Regions from separate parts of the Homo sapiens genome. Here all the other regions are linked to region 6. The links are contacts of gene promoters, found by promoter capture Hi-C in blood cells and fetal thymus (Javierre and others, 2016). All regions are on one chromosome and are shown on one strand. Each heading gives the region's core, a stretch centred on a gene start or on the middle of the fragment in contact. The rest is flanking DNA. Distances are from core to core; before and after follow the strand shown.

The links. Contacts are between HindIII fragments. The CHiCAGO score rates a contact against its expected background, and 5 or more counts as called.
Region 1: a contact is called between a fragment that was not itself captured here and the fragment with the promoter of PTPRK-AS1 in region 6, in 2 of 17 cell types (total CD8 T cells and naive CD8 T cells). The highest score is 7.4, in total CD8 T cells.
Region 2: a fragment that was not itself captured here is called in contact with the fragment with the promoter of PTPRK-AS1 in region 6 in 8 of 17 cell types (total CD8 T cells, non-activated CD4 T cells, total CD4 T cells and 5 more); the score reaches 9.0 in total CD8 T cells.
Region 3: a fragment that was not itself captured here is called in contact with the fragment with the promoter of PTPRK-AS1 in region 6 in 4 of 17 cell types (fetal thymus, M2 macrophages, non-activated CD4 T cells and 1 more); the score reaches 6.7 in fetal thymus.
Region 4: a contact is called between a fragment that was not itself captured here and the fragment with the promoter of PTPRK-AS1 in region 6, in 1 of 17 cell types (M2 macrophages). The highest score is 5.6, in M2 macrophages.
Region 5: a contact is called between a fragment that was not itself captured here and the fragment with the promoter of PTPRK-AS1 in region 6, in 4 of 17 cell types (naive CD8 T cells, total CD8 T cells, non-activated CD4 T cells and 1 more). The highest score is 7.4, in naive CD8 T cells.
Region 7: a contact is called between a fragment that was not itself captured here and the fragment with the promoter of PTPRK-AS1 in region 6, in 1 of 17 cell types (fetal thymus). The highest score is 5.8, in fetal thymus.

The regions. Positions count from the first base shown.
Region 1 is chr6:127,785,711-127,788,991 of GRCh38, reverse strand. All of the region lies in intron 4 of THEMIS (thymocyte selection associated), which reads left to right. Among named protein-coding and RNA genes, the nearest start is that of THEMIS, 110 kb to the left of the region's middle. The HindIII fragment of the contact is 2,130 bases long and covers 566-2,695 here.
Region 2 is chr6:128,259,076-128,262,081 of GRCh38, reverse strand. The region is part of intron 3 of PTPRK (protein tyrosine phosphatase receptor type K); the gene reads left to right. Among named protein-coding and RNA genes, the nearest start is that of PTPRK-AS1, 230 kb to the right of the region's middle. The HindIII fragment of the contact is 155 bases long and covers 1,207-1,361 here.
Region 3 is chr6:128,275,135-128,278,174 of GRCh38, reverse strand. The region is part of intron 3 of PTPRK (protein tyrosine phosphatase receptor type K); the gene reads left to right. Among named protein-coding and RNA genes, the nearest start is that of PTPRK, 240 kb to the left of the region's middle. The HindIII fragment of the contact is 639 bases long and covers 956-1,594 here.
Region 4 is chr6:128,203,032-128,206,156 of GRCh38, reverse strand. All of the region lies in intron 6 of PTPRK (protein tyrosine phosphatase receptor type K), which reads left to right. Among named protein-coding and RNA genes, the nearest start is that of PTPRK-AS1, 180 kb to the right of the region's middle. The HindIII fragment of the contact is 2,437 bases long and covers 174-2,610 here.
Region 5 is chr6:127,838,202-127,841,412 of GRCh38, reverse strand. All of the region lies in intron 2 of THEMIS (thymocyte selection associated), which reads left to right. Among named protein-coding and RNA genes, the nearest start is that of THEMIS, 61 kb to the left of the region's middle. The HindIII fragment of the contact is 3,024 bases long and covers 4-3,027 here.
Region 6 is chr6:128,026,262-128,029,195 of GRCh38, reverse strand. PTPRK-AS1 (PTPRK antisense RNA 1) reads right to left here and starts at 1,331. Exons shown (of 5, transcript NR_125849.1): 1 at 1,273-1,331. The region is part of intron 13 of PTPRK (protein tyrosine phosphatase receptor type K); the gene reads left to right. The HindIII fragment of the contact is 8,791 bases long and covers 1-2,934 here.
Region 7 is chr6:128,229,900-128,232,776 of GRCh38, reverse strand. The region is part of intron 5 of PTPRK (protein tyrosine phosphatase receptor type K); the gene reads left to right. Among named protein-coding and RNA genes, the nearest start is that of PTPRK-AS1, 200 kb to the right of the region's middle. The HindIII fragment of the contact is 630 bases long and covers 1,163-1,792 here.

The sequences.
Region 1 (3,281 bases), core at 381-2,880, 240 kb after region 6:
TTGTTTGCTCATGCTTCTCTAGTTCTTTTAATTGTGATGTTACGGTGTCGATTTTACATCTTTCTTGCTTTCTCCTGTGGGCATTTAGTCCTATAAATTTCACTCTAAACACTACTTTAGCTGTGTCCCAGAGATTATGGTATGTTTTTACTATATTAAGGTAAATAAAGTTCATTGTATTTATGTAATATTTTGTCTTCCTGGAGAGTAGGGAGGGGTTAGTGAGGATTAAATGAAATAGCCTTGTCTGAGTAGAATTTATACACTGTAATAATGTATTGCCTCTTTAATGATGAAAGAAATAATCTCTGCTGATGTGATCATTTTTGTTGTGCCTTTTCAAGAAAATATATGGGGCTAAAATGTTAAAATAACTTATTTTCAAGTAGAGTACTATAATCTGAAAATACAATTGAGTACCTTCTTACTGTCCGTAAATGAATACTCTCAAAAGTTCTGATAGTTTTAATTAAGGTAATAATTATGAATGTCATTCATTTGTTTAATGAAAATGTCAATATTGGCAAATAAAGCATTTTAATTTTTTCCTGTGGGATAAGAAGCTTCCTTTGTATTCATCCCTCAACCTTTCATTATTCAATACCAAAAGCTGTAGAGTAAATCAGGGAAAGTCACTAGGTTGGTGTCAATCCCTGGATTTGATTATTGAGAGGCAATTCTCCATGAAATATTTTCAGATTACCACACAGTCCAATCTTTTTGAGGAAAGACCACTGGCAAACTTGGTTAAAGTAGGGTTGAATAGCAAATGTATCTTGGAAGATAGAGATAGTAGGTTGCTTCAGAGAGGTTTAGAGACGTCTCCCCTGTAAACATTTGCTAACATCGCAAAATAAAAGACTCTCCCTCACCTGAGGAAAGGATGGGTCAATGTGCCAGCCAAACTCCAAGTGTCATAGTTTGTGAGTCCATGGTGGTATACTCAACTCTTGTCTGTGCAGGATAACATTAGTCTCTCATAGCCTTCTCAGTGCTAAGATGCTCTGTGAATATTCAACTATCTGTTTTCTAATCTAGACACTTTGTGTTTATTACCAGAAGAGCATCTATTTATCTATCTATCTATCTATCTATCTATCTATCTATCTATATCTATCTATCTATCTATCTATCTATCTATATCTGTCTATCTCTATCTATCTATCTATCTATCTATCTATCTATCTACCTATCACTGTGGCAGGCTGACTTTTTAGCTTATAAATATAGTTAGTAGACTTAATTTTAGATAATACAGATGTCATTCCTTTATTAACCTCATGCCATGCTGATGTTTGTAATGATGAGAAACGAGAATCATTTTATGGTATCGTTTATCAAGATATTGTATATATCATGTGTTCTCTATGATACATTCAAAAAACAGATCCCAGTAATAATATGTTTACAGTATGGAGTTCTTTACACACACATACTTTCAGGACAGTTGAGATAGAGAGATAAAAGCATTTCCCTGGTGCCAGTGGTAGGTTTGAATTTCTTTGAAACATATCAAGATAAGGTGATGCCATGCAAAGAACATGGTGACATGGGTGCAGCAGAGTGTCAGCTAGGAGCAGACTAGATTCATCTTGGCGGACCTAGTGGACTAGTGATATCTGAGGCCTTTTATGTGCATGAGTAGATCTATGCAAGTTTTCCAGCTAAAGGAAGAAGGTGATGTGTGCATGTGTTTGTGTGTGTGTGTGTGTGTGCGTGCACACATGTGCATGCTAGAGTGCAGGAAAGAGACAAAGATAAACAGGAAAGTTGGGAAAATTTAGAATATATTAAAAAAAACCCTATATCTTGCTTCCTGTTTGCCACAATTAGCATCACAGCCTCTGGAAGATGCAATGGTTAATAATTGCTGCTGATTCTTTGATATGGCTTTTCCTGGGGACAGTAGGGAGTCAGCTTGAGTAAAGACAAATCCTAGAAAGGGTGCTTTTTCAGGGAGATTCCTAACAGCTAACATAGTGGCAATGCTCTTGGAATCGAGTTTTTTTAGGAGCTCCAAACCCAGTGTCCCCCTCTTTGGTGGTTGCAAAGTTGCTTTTTCTCACAGCTACTGTGATTGCAAGGCTGCTGGTTTTCAAGTCTGTCATGCAGCTGAGAAGAATTGCTATAGGACAATTCAAAACGTCACAAAGCTCACATTCTTATCAAGATTTAGTCACTTTTCTTAAAAAAAAGATTTCTTTTTCGTTAATTTCTAGAGTTCTGCAAAAGTTGATTCTGACAAATTTTGCTAGTGGTCATTGCCTTTATGCTGAAATAGATTTTCAGAAGTCCTTAGCCTGCCATTTCTAACTGTTGGTCTTGGGCAAATTATTTAATCTCCCTTTTTCTCAATTTTCTAGTTCATAAAACAAGCATAGTAACATGCCCTAGAGAATTGTTGTGAGGCTTAAGAAAGCTCATTCAAGAAAACCACTTAGAATAGTACTTGGTACCTAATGAATACTCAACCAACACTGGCTGTCAGTATCAGTATATTCATTTTAAATACTTAAGTTTAGATATAAACAAACCTACCTTTTATTTTTCCCAAATTTTGGTTCTATGCTCACTTTTTATTTTTCTGAATTGGTTTATCTGGCTACAAAGTTTTACAGATTCTATTTCACAACGTTTCAGACCATAGCAGTTGATAATGTTTTACATTCCATTACACAGACTATTCCCTGAAGCTTTTTGGAACAATAACAGATGGCCAAGCTGTTGAAGATATTATGATTCTACTTACTGTTCAAATATGTAGGCTAGAACAGGGTAATTTTGCTTTCTGTTACCTGAGAAAAATAAGAATGCCACATTTATTTATGTACTTTTATCCATGTGGTTTATAAAATTTCACTTTTTGAGAGGATTGTCCCAGGGTGCAAATAGTGCAAAATATCTTATTGAATACCTAGAGCTATCAAAGTCATTAATGTTTTATAAAATATTCAAACTTTTAATAATAAATAAAGCTGCTTCCTAAAAAGATCTCCTACTAAGAGGGAGTACATATGAGAAGATGAGGTACTTTCAGTGCCTTAAATGTCAGCAAACTTGAGCCTGTCAGAAAAAGAAAATGGGAATTTCATAAATTGGTATAATATGTAATTACAATGGCTAATTCAAAATATTTAACAATAATTAATTATGAAAAATAAGTAGTCTTTTGCCCTCTTTTCTAAATGCTATTAATATTATTTATGATAATATTAAGCATAGTACTCATATAATGAGTCACTTCATTAAAGATATTCTTAGGTTTTTTTGGTCTATATTTG
Region 2 (3,006 bases), core at 35-2,534, 230 kb before region 6:
TGCCTGATCCACATAAAGCACACTTGATCAGTTTTGTCATTTGCACATGTGGAGAGTTTTCTCAGGCTGAGTAACTCCTGGTATTGGATTCTAGGCATAATCATGTCATTCTTGCTTGTTGGTGCCATGAAATAATTAGCCCACCATGTAAGGGCCCAACTTGATGCTGTGCTTAAGAGTAGAGCCTATATTCTTGATTCTTGTGGAATTTGTGTCTTATATGAAAGTTTGCTTGACCCACCAGTTGCTTCTTTTTGCTTTTAACTGTTAATATAGCTCCAAAAGCTATTGCCCAAATTTGTCAAAATTCATATTTAAAAGTTCTGCTGTTCAATGAGCTAGTCACTAGCCAGATGCAATTATTAAAATTAAAATTAAAAATGTATTTATTCATTTGCACTATCCACATTTTAAGTGCTTGATGCCTGCAGGTGGCTGGTTAGTGGCTACTATGTAGACAGATACAGAACATTTTTCTTGTGGCAGACAATTTTGCTGGACAGTTTTGCTCTAGACTGAAGCTCTGCACACAGTACTTCCCCTGTAATAACTATAGACATCTGGCTAGTTTTTACTGTGTTACAAACATTTTGCTAATTCAAGTTTGGAGACAATGGATTTCATAAAGAAATTATAATAAAATATACCTGTCAATGTACAATGTAGTGTTTCACCATATTATGTAATAAAATATCTTAAGTGCTAGTTTGGAAAATTTGCTGTTTTTTGTTATAGTGTTTTTAACATCTTTTGCCCTCTAGAACATTATTCTCAAATTTTAAATCCATATAACTATTGAAAAATCTGTATAAGTATTGATTTCTGCTTTTACATCTTTAATCATATGAACCAAAAGAAATACAACAATGAATCATCTAATATGTTTGAACAAAAATTGATGGGTTTTTCTTTTTTGAAAGTTTTATTTGGAGCACTGAGCTTGGAATATAAAATAAATAAAGACAACATGGAATTTAAATTTGGATGGGTAAAATAGAAAATGAAGTTTAGAGGCTTGATAGATTGACAGATCAAGAGGGGTAAAACAGAAACTATTGCTATATAAGCTCAGGATGAAATACTAAGTAGAGACCTCAGCCTATACATAAAAAGAGATGGAAAAACTAAGAAAATGCATGTTTGTTTTGCAATTTAAATTTTTATTTTCAGATCTTAGAGGACAACTATATCATTAAATGTTAAGCTTGCTAAAGCAGTATTTTTTAGGTGTCTTTAAAGTAACTTACTACAACTTCCTATATTTTTGCAGCATCTTCTAATGTACATGAAAGTTCAGTGAATGTACATGAAAGTTCAGGGACCACATGCTTAAATACTGGAGTTGAACGGAGAACTAAGCTTGTTTTGAAATAATTTTTGTTGTCCCTGCTTCCAAATTTGTTGTGGTAGTGGTTATATGAGTCTTTTATTTATTAGGAGATTAGGAAACTGCTTTCATAAATGGACATTATACAAGCATCTTCAAGAAACATGTTTCGCTTCTCCAGCTCCAATTAGAAAAGCGGTAATCTCCATCCCAGCCTTCTGGATGGCTGGCCTCTCTTCCTAACTTTCTTACCCGAATACCTCTTTATAGGAGGCTTACTACATGCCATTTGCTATGCTAGATATTGTGGGTAGCAATGATAAAGGCCATCTTCTCTATTTTATTTTTGGGCATCCTCAGGGTTAATGCCGTCATCTTTTCCTTCAACAACTGCAGTGGTCTCCTTAACATTGTCTCTGCTTCTGGATCTTGGTCTCCCACAAACCACTTCTCACAGTCATCAAAACAAACTTCTTCAGATCATAATTCAGATTATGTCACTCCTCTGCTATAAGCCTGTTCTGTTACATTTAGAATGAAATCCAATCTTTTAAAAAATAGAATAAAAAAAAATATATTTTAGGAAGCCATGTCATCAGAAGTGTAATCCAGAGAATAATATACTCTATAGGTCTAAAAAAAGATTTTCTAAATTATGCAATTATATTTTGATAAATACTTATAAATATTCAAATACAGACATCAGTAAAATGAAAAGTGAAACTCATTTCACCCATTTCATTCAATTTCTCCCCCAAGATGACTACTGTTAATTGGGTCTATATAGTTTAAGGCCTTTCCTATGAAATTACGTCCATGTTGTACGTTTGCTTTACATATGTTATGGACTGGAAAATGAAAGCAGTTGTGTGGAAGGGTTCTTATGTTACAGAAGGAAGTCACATTTTTTTAGTTTCCTTTTAACTTTCTTTAAATGAAAAGGAAAGAATGTTTTAAGTTATATCTTCAACTGCTAGAAAGGTAGTATACTTAGAATTTTTATGGCCCTTTCCTAGGGATTTATGATTTTCACATAAAAGAATGAAAATTGAACACACACTGAATTATACTTCTAAAACATACTTGAAATTTTTTGCCTCTCTCTATTCGTGTTACTTAACCAGTGCAAACTTACTGTAAGTAACGAAATCATTGAAGAAATACACAGAAAATGAAAGTAATCCATAATCTCACCTTCTGCTTTCTAGAGATGACTCCTAATATTTTGACAGGTGGCACATACATATGCATGTATGTATGTGCATATATGTACATTATATATGTGTGTGTGCATGTGCATATTAAACTTGATATTCAGTGGAATCATAATACATAATGTTTTGGTTTCCTTAATTAGGTTATTGTGAAAAGCTTTCCTCTTCATATTCTATTTTTAAGCAACCTGTCCCAATCTGACAATTTCTCACTCTTAGTTTAGTGGTTTTGAGCTGTGGCATACTGGTGTTCCCTGACAGTGGTATTGCAGGTGTTGAAAAATTTGTAGTGTGATAACCTAGCCTATAGGGTGGAGCCTGGAACTATGACAGTTGTCTTTTTACTTCAAGGTGCCACACAGTTGTTGTCATCTCCTGTTTGTTTTTCATAATATAAAAGCATTTGGGAAGCACTGCTAAAAATCCATGCTTTCCCTGTCTCCCTCCTCAAACATGGACCTCCCC
Region 3 (3,040 bases), core at 26-2,525, 250 kb before region 6:
AAATAAATAAATAAATAAATAAATAAATAAATAAATAAATAAATAAATAAAAAACACAAAAACACCTGCATTGTTTCCTTTACCTATTTTTATGGTACTACTAGCTTTTTTGGGAAAAGAGCCAGAAAGTATTCATTTAAAATGTCAATAGAATTTCACCAATAATTTGGAAACACTGATTTGTAGGTTTTTTCTTTTAAAACAAACTCAATTTATTCCATTTAAAAAATATTTGGACTGTATTTGTTCTCATGTTCTCATATCATGCCCATTTTTGTCAGTATTAGCAAATAGCAAATTAGATTATTCAGCCCCTCATTCAACAAACAGTTTTAAGTACCTCAGATGGGCCAGGTACTTCTGCAAATTTTCTCCATACCTTAGGATATTCTTTGTTTGGACTAGAAGACTAGAATTAATTCAAGACAGCTATTCAAACCTAAGCCATTTGCTGAGGTCGATTCATAAATCATGTTAAAATGTTAGTCTAACCTCACATAAATTAATATGCGTCCTTTCCCCAACCTTCACTTCTTTGGCCAGGAGATGAAAGCTCAACATGGACTTCCCACCCCAGGTATTGATCTCCTTTCAGAATCTGCCTCTGTATTACTGTTTCGAGAGTCAGGGTCAGCAGGAATATTGTTTTGGGAGAACAGGTCACATATTGCATTAGAGTAACATATGATTATTTTCTGACCTCTCTTCTCTTTAACTTAATTCTCAGTGTTTTGACAGAGCTCTTGCATGCCTGTTCCCTAATAAAGGACAAAAGACAATCATTTTCTTATGACAGTTTCGTATTTTATCTCAATCTAACAGCAGCATGAATTGATAACTACTTGTACAAGTAATGTTATTTTATTTGGTTCAATGTACTATGACTGACTTTTATTTAAAAGACCCGTTCTGCAAATTACCTTGGTTTATACTTAATAGGTAGTTTTTATAAGCTTAGCTCCAAGTTAAACGTTCAATGTTTGTTTTATTGAATTACTTTCTATATGAACTTGAGTAGACAGCTGTTTTCATGTTAGTGAGACTTTTTTTTTTTTCTTTCAGACTGACACTGTTGTGCCAAGCTATAAGGAGTAGATTCTTCAGGCAGAGGTCACTCATTGTCTTTCAGTTAGAGATTTAGAAAAACTTTTCTAAGCTAGTGCTCCTGTGGTATTGCATGCTACAAAGTGGGGAGGCCCTTTGGGACATGGTCAAGTCTTTTTAAAGATCAAATCCTCAATTTTTGGAAGAGTATATATATCTCATATACACAGTTTCTTAAAATTTAGGGTTTGTTGAGACACATGGAAAAAAATTTAAATGCCACTGTTGAGTAATTTTATGCTGTATACTTTTTCAGGGAATAGTCTTGAACTCATCGGTGCCCACAACTTAGAGAAATAATATTTGGGGAACATTATTTGAAAGATACGCAACTCCTTCTATGTTTCTTCATTTTCTAAAAATCTATCCCCAAATCAAGCCAGATCTACAGAGACTGGCACAAGGAAGAATCAGTTTACCTCCCAATGGAATTGTTTTACTGAATCACATTACACTGGGAGCTGCTTGCTGCATTTATTGCCAGAAAGCTTAAAGCCAGTTTATGGCTCTCTAATAAGAAATATATAAATGTTTATGGTAAACATGTTTGAGCTTTATTTCTGGCTCTAATTGATGGCTTTATTCCCATTTTTCTTTCTTCTTTCTGTCCAGTTTTACACTTCTGGAATTTTCTTGTGGTTAATATATCCTTTCAGCTTCCTTTAGTCTTTTCTAGAATGGAGGCAGAATCTAAATAAACAAATACAAAACATCTGCAGTAGAAAAGGATAATGAGAAAAGAATGATTTTTTCTTTGAACTTCTGTTCTGTGGTCAAAGACAATATTTCTGCTTTCTTAAATAAAATAGCCTGGTAAATGCTATTAGTAGACAAATAAAGAAATTTGTATTTAAATTACTTACAGATACCATAAAACTTTATATGTGTTGCCTCAAGTAGAATCTTATGCTCTTGTTGTTGAATAATTTAGTATATTGGCATTTATAGTTAAGACATCCTATTTTAACATGATTTTAATAGTGAATCACTTAATATTTAATTAAATAGTTAATGTTACCTTATGTGCATACTTAAAATTTTTTTTAAAGTTTACATATATCATCATACTGATAGGAAAAGTCTATAAAGTAGGCAAGGTTTATATATTACCCCCATTTAAAAGGCATGGTTGGGTTATGACTTGCCAAAAAACAAAAGGCAAAAAATATATCATGTGGCAAAGAAAAATAAGACATTAAATTTTGAAAGAACCTTATGAGTCAGACATAATTCATCAAGTACAGTTTGCCTTTTAGTTTTATGAAATATTAATACTGAAAGGGACCTTAGAAAGTATTTTGTCCAGCCTTCTGATTTTATGAGTGAAAACAACCAACTAATTTTAGAACATTCAAACAAGTATTAGAACCTCTACTCAATGGAACCATATTTATCCCCTGTATAACTTCAAATAGAGTTGAGTAGTCTAATGTATATTCCCAAATACGAACATTAAGAACTTTAACACCTGGTTCAGTGTTTTGACCCTTTTAACCTCTCATTACTGTAACCATTATTAAAACTAAACTGTACTGTCTTCAGTTAGCAATTGATTAGCTCTTTTTTCTTTAGAGCCAAATAGACCCCAAATGAAAATCTTGCCACAGGCCCTTGAACTCTTTCTTTTACTCTTCCCATGTAACATTATGGAGTTTGCCGGTTGGTTATAAATAGATAAATAAACAAAAACAGAGCCAAACAAATAAATGTAAATAGATTAACATATCAGGGCTCTGAACACTCAGCTTCACATAGAAAAAGGTAAACAAACATAGATAAGTAATATTTGCAGCATTGTTTATAACATAAGAGCTTGAGTCAGAATCCTTTGAGTTCAAATCCTCATTCTCTCTCATTTCCTGTAAGCTTGGTCAAGTGAGTCAGTAACTGTAGCTTTGTGTCTTTATCTGTAAAATAGGGATGATACCTATATCAT
Region 4 (3,125 bases), core at 143-2,642, 180 kb before region 6:
TCACCATGTGTTAATTATTGGATTTATTGCTAATAAAATGACTAAGATGCATACTCTTTAGGGGGTTATAGTGCCATATGTAACTATGGTAATATCTAGTTTTCAAATTATAACATAATTTCTTTTTTCTCCACCAGCCTCTTTCCATGAGGGTCCAAGAAGCAAATAAAGCTTCTGTTTATGTTTTTGTATTTCTAACTAAGAAAGTCTATTCCAGATTCAGTTACTAACAACTATATGGAAAATAAGAAGTTATCTGGAAATGTGACTTATCTTTTGAATGAAATATGTCAATAAGCAGGGCATGTCCCTAGGGACATTTTCTCCCACTCTTATATTTTTTAACTTGAATTTTTTTTTTTTTTTTTTTTTTTTTTTTGGTCTGTGATGCAGATTCTCACTGTGTTGTCCAGGCTAGAGTTCAGTGGCACAATCTTGGCTCACTAGAACCTCTGCCTCCCAGGTTCGAGCAACTCTCCTGCCTCCACCTCTCAAGTAACTGGGATTACAGGTGCCCCCCACCACTCCCAATTTTTGTGTATTTTTAATAGAGATGGGGTTTCGCCATATTGGCCATGTTTGGTCTCAAACTCCTGACCTGGACCTCAAACACCATCCTAAGATGGTGATCCACCCATCTTAGCCTCCCAAAATGCTGGGATTATAGGCGTGAGCCACCACGCCTGGCCTTTTCTTGAAATTTCTTCACTTTCTTTCCTTTTGTTTTTCTTCAACTTTTAAGTTCAGGGGTACATGTGCAGGATGTGCAGGTTTGTTACATACATAAATGTGTCCCATGGTGGTTTGCTGCACAGATTGTCCCATCACCTAGGTATTAAGCTCAGAATCCATTAGCCGCTCTTCCTGATGCTCTCCCTCCCCCGCATACTTCCATCCAACAGGCCCCAGTGTGTGTTGTTCCCCTCCATGTATCCATGTGTTCTCATTATTCAGCTATCACTTATAAGTGCGGAATGTGGTGTTTGGTTTTCTGTTCTTGCATTAGTTTGCTGAGGATAATAGCTTCCAAGTCTCTCCATGTCCCTGCAAAGGACATGGTCCAATTCCTTTGTATGGTTGCATGGTATTTCATGGTATACATGTACCACATTTTCTTTATCCAGTGGGTCATTTATGGGCATCTAGGTTGATTGCATGTCTTTGCTATTGCGAATAGTGCTGCAATGAACACACACATGCATGTATCTTTATAAAAGAATGATTCCATTCTTTTGGGTATATACCCAGTAGAGGGATTTCTGGGTCAAATGGTATTTCTGCCTCTAGGTCTCTGAGGAATTGCCACACTGTCTTCCGCAAGGGTTGAGCTAATTTACATTCCAACAGTTTATAAGCATTCCTTTTTCTCCACACCCTTGCCAGCATCTGTTGTTTTTGACTCTTCGATAATCACCATTCTGACTGATATGAGATGGTATCTCTTTGTGGTTTTGATTTGCATTACTCTAATGATCAGTGATGTTGATCTTTTTTTTTTTTCATGTTTGTTGGCTGCCTATATGTCTTCTTTTGAGAAATGTCTGTTCATGTCCTTTGCCTACTTTTTAATGGAGTTGTTTTCTTCTTGTAAATTCGCTTAAGTTCCTTATAAACTCTGGATATTAGACTTTTGTCAGATGGATAGATTGCAAAAATTTTCTCCCATTTTGTAGGTTGTTTGTTCACTCTGATGTTAATTTCTTTTGCTGTGCAGAAGTTCTTTCGTTAGATCCCATTTGTCAATTTTTGCTTTTGTTGAGATTTCTTTTGGTGTCTTCATCATGAAATCTTTATCCATGCCTATGTCCTGAATGGTATTGCCTAGATTTCCTTCTAGGCTTTTTATAGTTTTGAGTTTTACATTTAAGTCTTTAATCATCTTGGGTTAATTTTTGTATATGTTTTAAGGAAGGGGTCCAGTTTCAATTTTCTGCATTTGGCTAGCCAGTTCTCCCAGCACCATTTATTAAATAGGGAATCCTCTCCCCATTGCTTGTTTTTTCAGGTTTGTCAAAGATCAGATGGTTGTAGGTGGATAGTCTTATTTTTGAATTCTCTATTCTGTTCCACTGGTCTATGTGTTTGTTCTTGTATCAATACTATGCTGTTTTGGTTACTGTAGCCTTATACTGTAGCTAGAAGTTGGGTAGTATGATGCCTCCAGCTTTGTTCATTTTGCTTTGGATTGTCTTGGCTATTTAGGATCTTTTTTGGTTCCATATGAATTTTAAAATAGTTTTTTTCTAATTTTATGAGGAACATCAATAGTAGTCTAATGGGAATGCTATTGAATCTATAAATTACTTTAGGCAGTATGGCCATTTTCATGACATTGATTCTTCCTGTCCATGAGCATGGAATGTTTCCCATTTGTTTGTGTCCTCTCTGATTTCTTGGAGGAGTGGTTTGTAGTTTTCCTTGAAGAGGTCTTCCACTTCCCTTGTTAGCTGTATTTCTAGGCATTTTATTCTCTTTGTAGCAATTGTGAATGGGAGTTTACTCAGAATTTGGCTCTGTGCTTGCCTCTTGTTGGGGTATAGGACTGCTAGCAATTTTTTCACATTGATTATCCTGAGACTTTGCTGAAGTTGCTTATCAGCTTAAGAAGCTTTTAGGCTGAGGTGATGGGGTTTTCTAGGTATAGGATCATGTCATCTGCAAATAAAGATAATTCAACTTCCTCTCTTCCTATTCAAATACTCTTTATTTCTTTGTCTTGCCTGATTGCCCTGGCCAGAACTTTCAATACTATGTTGAATAGGAGTGGTGAGAGATGACGTCCTTGTCTTGTACTGGTTTTCAAGGGGAATGCTTCCAGCTTTTGCCCAATCAGCATGATATTGCCGATTTTGCCTGTGGGTTTGTCATATATGGCTGTTACTGTTTTGAAGTCTTTTCCATTGGTTTATTGAGAGTTTTTAACCTGAAGAGATATTGAATTCCATTGAAGTCCTTTTCTGCATCTATTGCGATAATCATGTGTTTTTGTTTTTGTTTTTGTTTTTTTGTCTTTAGTTCTGTTTATGTGATGAATCACATTTATTTATTTGTGTATGTTGAACCAACCTTGCATCCCGGGGAAGAAGCCAACTTGATCATGGTGGATAAGCTTTTTGATATGCTGC
Region 5 (3,211 bases), core at 266-2,765, 190 kb after region 6:
GCTTTTTATGATGCTACCTTAACAGTACCAGCAGGGAAGGATTCTCATGAGAGGAACTAGATTGCCCTTAAACAATTGGATCTTCTGTTTCTTGCATCTTAACTGAACGTTGGTAGAGAACATTTCTATAATTATACACAGTTACATTTTGGGGATTTAGAGGTTTTGCCACTGGAATGCAAGCAGAGTTTCCCTATACTTCCTGACCCCCAACATGCCATATATGGCAGCCTCCCCCACCATCAATGTACAACACTAGAGTGGTACATTTGTTGCAAGTAGTGAACCTTCATTGACACATCATCTTCACTCAAAGTTCACAGTTTATATTTGGGTTCATTTTTGGTGTTGTACATTCTATGGGTTTTGATAAATGTAGAATGACACATATCCACTTTGATAGTGTCATACAAAATAGTTTCACCACCCTAAAAATCCTTTGTGCTCCGCCTACTCATTCCCCTCTCTCCTCTAATCCGTGGTAACCACTGATCCTTTTCCTGTCTCCATATTTTGCCTTTTTCAGAGCGTCATATAGTTGGAATCATATAGTATGTAGCCTTTAAAGATTGACTTCTTTCACCTACTAATACATATTTAAGGTTCTTACATGGCTTTTCATGATGTAATAAGTCATTTATTTTTAGTGCTGAGTAATATTTCATTGTCTGGATGTACCACAGTTTATCCATTCACCTACTGAAGGGCATAGTTATTACTTCCAAGCCTTGGCAATTACGAATAAGGCTGCTATAAACATTCATGTGCAGGATTTTGTGTGAAGATAAAGAACCCGAGTTTTTAAAGCTATAAGATGTATTTATTTTTCTGTTTTACAAGTAACACATGCATGTTGTAGAAAATTAGAAAATGGGAGAAAATTCAGGAAAGTAAATAAAACTCACTATAATATCATCACCAGACTCATCTAGCATTAATATTAGATACATTTGTTTCTGTTGTTTTCCAGTACATTGTACACATGCATACATATAGACACATGTTTTAGCATAATGGGAAAAAATCTTATTCTGAGGACTTGCCTGTGTCATTAAATATTCTTCAAGGCATAATTTTTATTTTCTAGGTAATAGTCCCTCACATGCATATTCCATAATGTATTCAATCCATCCTGAACATGGCCATTTATACAATTTGTACTGTGATGAACAGCCTTTTAAACTAACATTTTGTCTGCATTTCTGATTATTATAATAATCTTATATACATAGAAGTAAAAATGTTTTTAAAGATCTGATACATATTGTCAATCACATTTCATAAAGGCTCTGCTAATTTGCATTCCAACTAGGAACTTTTGAGGGGGCCAATCTAACTGCTTTTTTGAGGGTGTGACTTAACTGTTTGTCTTTCCCATCTCATTTTTTTGAGTTAATAGCATTATAACAATTTCCACATAACAACATTCACCTGATTAAAATATACAATTTAATGGCTTTTAGTGTCCCTGTCTCCATTTTTTTAGAAACATGAAATTTTAAATCTTCAACATCCTTGAAAATGGCAGGGCCTGACAGACCTGGCAGAGGGTCACACTGTCAACGATGCCCTGTAGTCAGGTAGGGGAACCAAGATGTGCAGTGCTTAGGTGAGTCATGCAAGGGAAGAGTTGTTCTTATAAGGGTGTTTGTTTTGACCTATTTAACTTCTTTCTAGAATTGCGAGTAAGTAAATATGGCCAGAAATTAATGAATTAAAAGACTTTTAGAAATGAGTTGTTAATTGGCTGGGCATAGTGGCTCATGCCTGTAATCCCAGCTCTTTGAAAGGCTTAGGTGGGAGGATGGCATGAACCCAGGAGTTCGAGGCCGCAGTGATCTGTGACTCCACCACTACACTCCAGCCTGGGTGAAAGCAAGACTCCATCTCAAACAAATTGAAAATTAAAAAAAGAGGTGGTAATCATTATTTGCAAATAGTAACATTACCCTGTAAAACAGAGTATCAAATGAGACAAAATATTGAAACTTGGTAAGATGACAAGATGAACAAATATGTAAAACAACTGTATGTACATAAAGGAATATATTCTTACATATAAGAATACATATAGTTATAATTTTCCATTTATAAACACTTAGAATATATAGGGGTAACATATTTTATAACTAACTCATTTATTTACTTAAAAAGTATTATACAAGTTTACTTATTTATTAAAAAATAGACGTGCTTGAATCAGAAAACTGAATATTATAAATATATCAATTACATATGAATTAATTTATGTTCAACATAATGCAGAATAAAATTTCCATATTATAATCATAATTATTACTATGTTGCCTCTTGAGAGAGTAATTGTAAAAATCACTTGGGAGAATAAACAAGTGAACATATTCAAGCAAATATTTTAAAAATAGGATAATGAGGGAGTACTTGTCCTGCCAACATTAATGTCTGATACAAAGTTATAATAAATGGTACTATATGTTGCTTACAGAAAATCAAAAACTGCATCAATAAATTACTTTTACAATAGTGGTACTAGTTGTTATAGAAGCGTCACAGCAATGTTTTTAATTTGACTCTAGTGCCATGCACTTAAGCATTTGTTTATAGCTCAGAAACAGACTTTAATGCAGAGTATTATTTGCTGTTTGATAAAGTTTTTACTGCACATCTGGGTTTAAAGGAAGAATTATTTAGTAAATTGTTCTAGTATAGTTAATAATGTAGCAAACAGTAGATCAAATTGGATCATCAACATTATACCATAGCAAAAGAAATTTGAAATAGATGAAAACATCACATTTTAAGGAAAACTATCTTATGTCTATATTTGAAACAACTTTCAAGTTGCAAATATAATAGAAAACCATAAGGAAACAATATATTTGAATACATAAAATGAAACTTTCTGTCATAAAGTAAAAAAATGAGGAAGAAATGTTTAATAGCAAAGGAAGATAACTCAATTTTTAAAAGACTAAATGTCACTGAAATGGAAAACAGAAAAATCAATAAATATTCTAGTAGAACACTAATAGGAAAATGGACAAAGCTTAGAAGAAATTCAAATGGTTTATAATTGTGTAGAAATTAGTTTGTACTAACACAATAACAACTTTTCCACCTATATAGGTATCTAAGCTTTTGCATTTATGAAGTTGGGAAAAATATTGTCAAAGGGTCACTCTTAAACCTAACTGAGGAGTGTATCCTTCCTGAAAATAAATTTTGTAATAGA
Region 6 (2,934 bases), core at 82-2,581:
CACACTCTTTAAACAACCAGATCTCACAAGAACACTCATTACTGTGAGGATGGCACCAAGGCATTCGTGAGAGAGCCAACCCCCAAAACCAAAAACCTCCCACCAAGTCCCATCTCCAGCATTGGGGAATACATCTCAGCATGAGATTTGGAGGGCACAAACACCCAAACTGTATCAGTTGATCAAGAACTGACCATGGAAGATGGATAGTTGAAGTCACAAGCAGTCCAGCACAATTCTAACCTTACCATGAATCTGAATTCTTAGCTCACTAAAGATTTAGGAACAGAATTGGGGAGTAGAATTATGGTCATGTAAAAATAGAGTCCGTTTAACATCCTAACCTTAAATCAGAAACCATCAAAGCATCATATCAACAAAAAAATTGTTTTCACTTATGAAAAATATGAATATTAACACAATTTTGTTGCACACTTACTCTCTGCCATATGTCTTACACTAGGCATTGAGAAAATACTAAAAATACATAGGATATGTTCCATGCTCTCAAGAAGTTGTGAATTGTGAAAGAACCTGATAGTTGAAGTAATAATTTCATGCAGTGTGCCTAAACATGAAATAGAATTCCATACAAAGTGACATTTAAATAGGTAGAAAAACCAGAGACCATATCCACACTGGTAACAGCATGGGCAGAGGTTTGCAGTTAGACATGAAAGTTAATGCAGTGTTCAAGAATATACTGAGGAGTTAGTAAGAAATTAGGCTAAAATGTATGTTGATACAGATATGAGAAAGGGCTGTAAGACTCAAGATTCACTTTATCTTGAGGGCAGGGTGGCAGCTATCAACAGTGCTAAAGCACTTTCTCTTCCACTTTAAAAATTAAAACAGTGTGGTAACCTTAAAAGGTGTTCTGAAACAATATTCTAAGCAACTGTTATCACTTTTGCTTTTTCCTTTTTTTTATCAGGTGCTTACTTAAACATTTCTCATAATTGCAAAGATTGTGACTTGTAATTATTTGTAGTTACTATTTTACCATGAGCTTTACCCACATTTTTATGTGTTTTAATTTTAAGTGGCTAAATATTATTATAAATAGTGTGTGCAGTATAATTTATATTCGTCATTTTCATTTTCCCTGAAATCTTTGTAGGCTATTAAGAAGAACAATGATAGGATCATATTTAAGTTTTAGAAAAATGACACCTTAAAAGCTGCAGGTAGATTAGGATGAGTAGGACTTGGAGTCAGAAACTTCAATAAGGGAGTGGCTGCAATATAGACTAGGAAAGAGGTGATACCAACCTGTCAGTGTCCTCATCGGTAAAAGAAGATACAGCTGGGCACAGTGGCTTATGCCTGTAATCCCAGCACTCTGGGAGGCCAAGGTGGGCGGATCACTTGAGGCCAGGAGTACGCACCAACTTGGCCAACAGAGTGAAACCCCGTCTCTACTAAAAACAAAAATTAGTCAGGCACAGTGGCACACGCCTGTAGTCCCAGCTACTCGGGTGGCTGAGGTAGGAGAATTGCTTGAACCCAGGAGAAGGTTGCAGTAACCTGAGATGGCTCCACTGCACTCCAGACTCGGTGACAGAGCAAGACTCTGTCTCAAAGGAAAAAAAAAACATACAACAAGCCTCATAAGTGCTTGTGAAAGCTAATTGAAATAATATATTAAAAGAGTTTGGCATTTAGAAAGCTCTGAAACGATCATTCATTTAACAGAGGAAGCTATGAACATTTTTTTTTTAAAGGTCAGTTTGACTTTTAGGCACCTGATTTCCTGAAGGACTCTTTGAACTCTTTGAATGTGGGTACTGTTTTATGCATTTTCATGTGATAACTAAACAGCCTGATTTACATTCTTGCCCAATATACGTATTTCTTCAAATAATGAACTAATGAATTCCCGGGCAATAAATACCTTTTGGTTAAATGGACAAACAGTTCTGTTCAGTGGGAAACATGCTAGTAGAGTCTGCTTTTAAAGGAATTGCTGTATGCAGTATTCTAAGAAATAATGAGGAAGTATTTTTACTTCAAAATACTTTGATCATAATATGATGATAGGTATTTTCTTCTCTTGCCTGTGAAAGTGTGTGTTAGGTATGTACATTATGGGGCCAAACTAGTGATTGTTGCTAATTAGGATATATGTGGCGCATTCTATCAAGAATCCCAGTTTTCTGGGCACTGTGAGCTGTAAGTCAAGTCATAAAAAGGAGTGAATTGTCTTTTTCATATATAGCACTGAAATTGACTGGAGTTAATTATTTAATGCCTACCTCCCCTACTAGACTACAGGCTGTGTCACACACCTCCCTCAGCATCTAGCACAGCAAATGGATTTAGTAATATTTATTGAATAGATTAAGAAATACAGAGTGAATAAAATAGGACACTGGTTGGAGTGTTGGGTCAACCACAATTTTGGTGTGATATATTCTACATATCACAGTGAGAAGGAAAATGATATAAAATGAATAATATCCTCCTTAAAGTACTATACAAAAAGAATACTTCTTATATTTTTTCAAGATGATGTAATCTTGTCAAATATATAATATGTTGCATGCCAGTGCTTTCTTAATCCTTAATAGTAATACCAGTAATTGTATATTAAGTTCCTGCTATGTGTCAAATACTTCTAGGTACTTTAAATGTATATTCAGTAATCTTCAGAACAAGCCTAGAGAGCAGAATTTAGTTATTTCATTGTAAAGATGAGAAAAGTGGGTCTCAAAAAAAGCAGATAACTTGTCCCAGATCACACAGTAGTTTTTCTTGGTACCTGGAGTGATTTTCATCCCTCTTTCAAATACAACCCTTTGGCTATTGGGAAGTAGCTATTACAACTGTATTTTTTCTTTAACTTGATGTAAGGGAAAGACCACTTTACACATATACAAATAGGAGAAAGTTTTGCCAGACCTTCTGCAGCTAGTATTTACATGAGTGAGTAGA
Region 7 (2,877 bases), core at 228-2,727, 200 kb before region 6:
TAGCATATAAGTACCAAAACAGTGAGTAAACTTGAACAATGATGTCAGAATTGCTAAAGGCACATGGCACAAATATATCTTGAGATTTGTAGAAGATTAGGTAAGTGACTTATTTACTACCTTGTAATGTAAGGAATATACAAATGGATTTAATTTCCTCCTTATAGATCCTAAAGTATAATAATGACATGATTTGAAGCTTATGGTGAGAGCTATAAGCTGATTATAAGGGAGAACTTTGTAATTGTAGGGCTGTTGAAAACTACAATGAGCTGCTCCAGGAGGTAGTAAAATTACAATTAGTCCAAGTATCCAAGCATAATCTGGGTAAGCATATGCTAGAGATGTAGAAGACATTTGAGCCTGAGGTTAACTACTTTTTAAGATACTTTTTGCCCTGACATGTGATTCTATAACTGTGTATGGGAAGTCTGTATAGAGTCTAAGGACTGTACTGTTTCAGAGATAAGCGTGAGCAACGCGGACTGGAGTATTTGGTGAAATCATTAGAGAAGACTTGATTGAAACCTTGAAGTGTACATAGTACTTGAATAAGCAAAAGTGGGCATGGTTACTACTGCAGATTCAGAAGGCAGAAAGCACGTCGTGTGTATGTGTGGGGACGTGGGATAGGAACCGAAGGAGAAGGATCTTACTGAAGTGGAAGGTTCACCATGAGGAGTGGAGGTAAATAGAATTTATGGAAAAGTTGGTACTAGACCACGGTGGAGACTGCTGGAAGAGGAAGAGGCTTCTGTTCTCAGTACAGTCATCAGGGAATGAGGGCCTGATTCCGGACAGCGCCATTGGCATTGGAAGATCCATGAGTAGCAAAGGAGAGGACAAATTAAGAAACAAAACGATTTTGGGCCTGGTTTGCACCATTTTATAGAATTTGAGAAGATGTGAGAGTGAAGTAATATAGACAGCTTTGTACATTTTCTCAGAGTTTATTTTTAAAAGACAGTCAATGAGTTTGTTTTTTCAATTTCTAGTTTTGGAGCGCATTTGTCTATTAGAACCATTGTTTTACTTTTTACCTCTTTCTACCTTCATAATTTCATGTAAGTGTTCCTCAGTAGGAGTGAAAAATGAGGAGACATTTCAATTCCTTTTGACTCTTTCTAGCTTTAATAAAAGTTTACCAAGACAATTTGAAGCTTGTCGCCAACTTAAACCTCTGAGTGGCCCAGGTGTCACTGAGGAGAATTAATCTATGGGAAAACTGTTGGTGCCTTCAACCTTGGCTGCTTCTGTAACTTCTGGCTCACAAGACAGGAGTGTGAGGAGTGCAAACCATGTCCCTTGTGCTTTCCTAGTTTCTTGTCACCTGCTCTAAACTTTAGCTGATAGATGAATAGTAGCTTGCTATTTAATTCTAATTTTCTCTGCTTTTGTCTAAGCAGTAGTGATTTTGCCATGTATACACTGGTTTACAGTTAATTCTGATCCACTTAAGAGACCGTGTTCTCTTTCGTAGCTAAGAGCCAACACTCGGCAGTCCTGCTTTTCATTGGGCCATTGGTATATTCTAATTCACAGCATTATCTTCTTTCTGCATAGCTTTATATAAAGAATTCTGCTTATAGGTCTTGAGATAAAGTCACCGATCTCATATCATGGATTATAAGGTTTTTCTTCTGCTTTCTGGCATTTTGGATATGTAATGATGAGCATCAGAAAGTTTAATCATATTTACTTTTTAGAATTGTTAAATACTCCTGAAGTCATTTTGGTTGATTTTATGTGGCTTCCTACCGTAAAGAGATCAATGCCTTGCAGATATAAAGCTTTCTTTTCCTTCTTTAATAATTTATAAACTCTGAATTTAATGTTTACAGATTACATAACTGATCATAAATGAATAATGCGTATAATATTCTTTACCTTCCTTATCTATTCTTGGAACAGGACTATACAAGCCTGGCAGTCATGGAAGTTCAAGGATTGCTTTTTATCGATATCTAGAAATAATTTACTTCTCTTTCTGTGCAAGAACAATATGCTCTCCTGTTTGCAGAGCTGCCCCTTCAGTGTGTTTCTAGGTGTGTCACGTCAAGCACTTTGTAACTTTCCCATTGAGCTCCTGGGATCAGTATTACAACATGGATCACTGGCAGGCCTGGTTTCTTCTTTATGAAAAGTAGTCTGCTAGAAAGATCTAAAATTTACAAAATTATTTTATTGTAAAATAAAACGTAGGTATAGAATACCACACAAAAATAAAAACTATTGTGACTCAATATCGGGTAAACATCACACAGGACAAGAAAGAGAGCTTGCCAGCCATCCCAGAGGTGCCGTCCATGTGCTCTGTGCCAGGCATAACAGAGCTGTCTCCCTGCCTCTACAAATAACCACTCTCATGAATTTTAACCCTTGTAGTTTTTTTGCAGTTATATATGCATCCCTAGACACCATAGTCTTACCAGTTTTTAAAATTAGACATCTTTTTAAGTCACTTTTAATCTGTAGGTTTGTCCTTTATTCCTTTCCTCGCAATTTATCTGTTGAGCCTAGGATGTTTGACTTCTAGCTTCCCCTGTCCACATTTTGCTGATTGCATACTAATGCCCTCTTCAGTTCCACATGTCCCTCTTTCCTCTCCATTTCCTGCAACTTGGCAGCCAGATCCAGGGTCAAGTTTGATCCTTTGGCAACACCATAGGTGGTGTTTGGTATAATAACAGGAGGAACAAAATGTGTCATCTTTCTTTTTGTGATCTTGTCAGTCTCTGATGATTAATGCCTATATTTATTCCTGGGGGTAGAAAACTGTGATATTCTATCATTTTTTTGTGTGTCTTATTTCTTTTGTATTTGTTTAGTTGATGAAAAGATACATACTCCCCCTAATCTACTATTTGGTTACCCAAT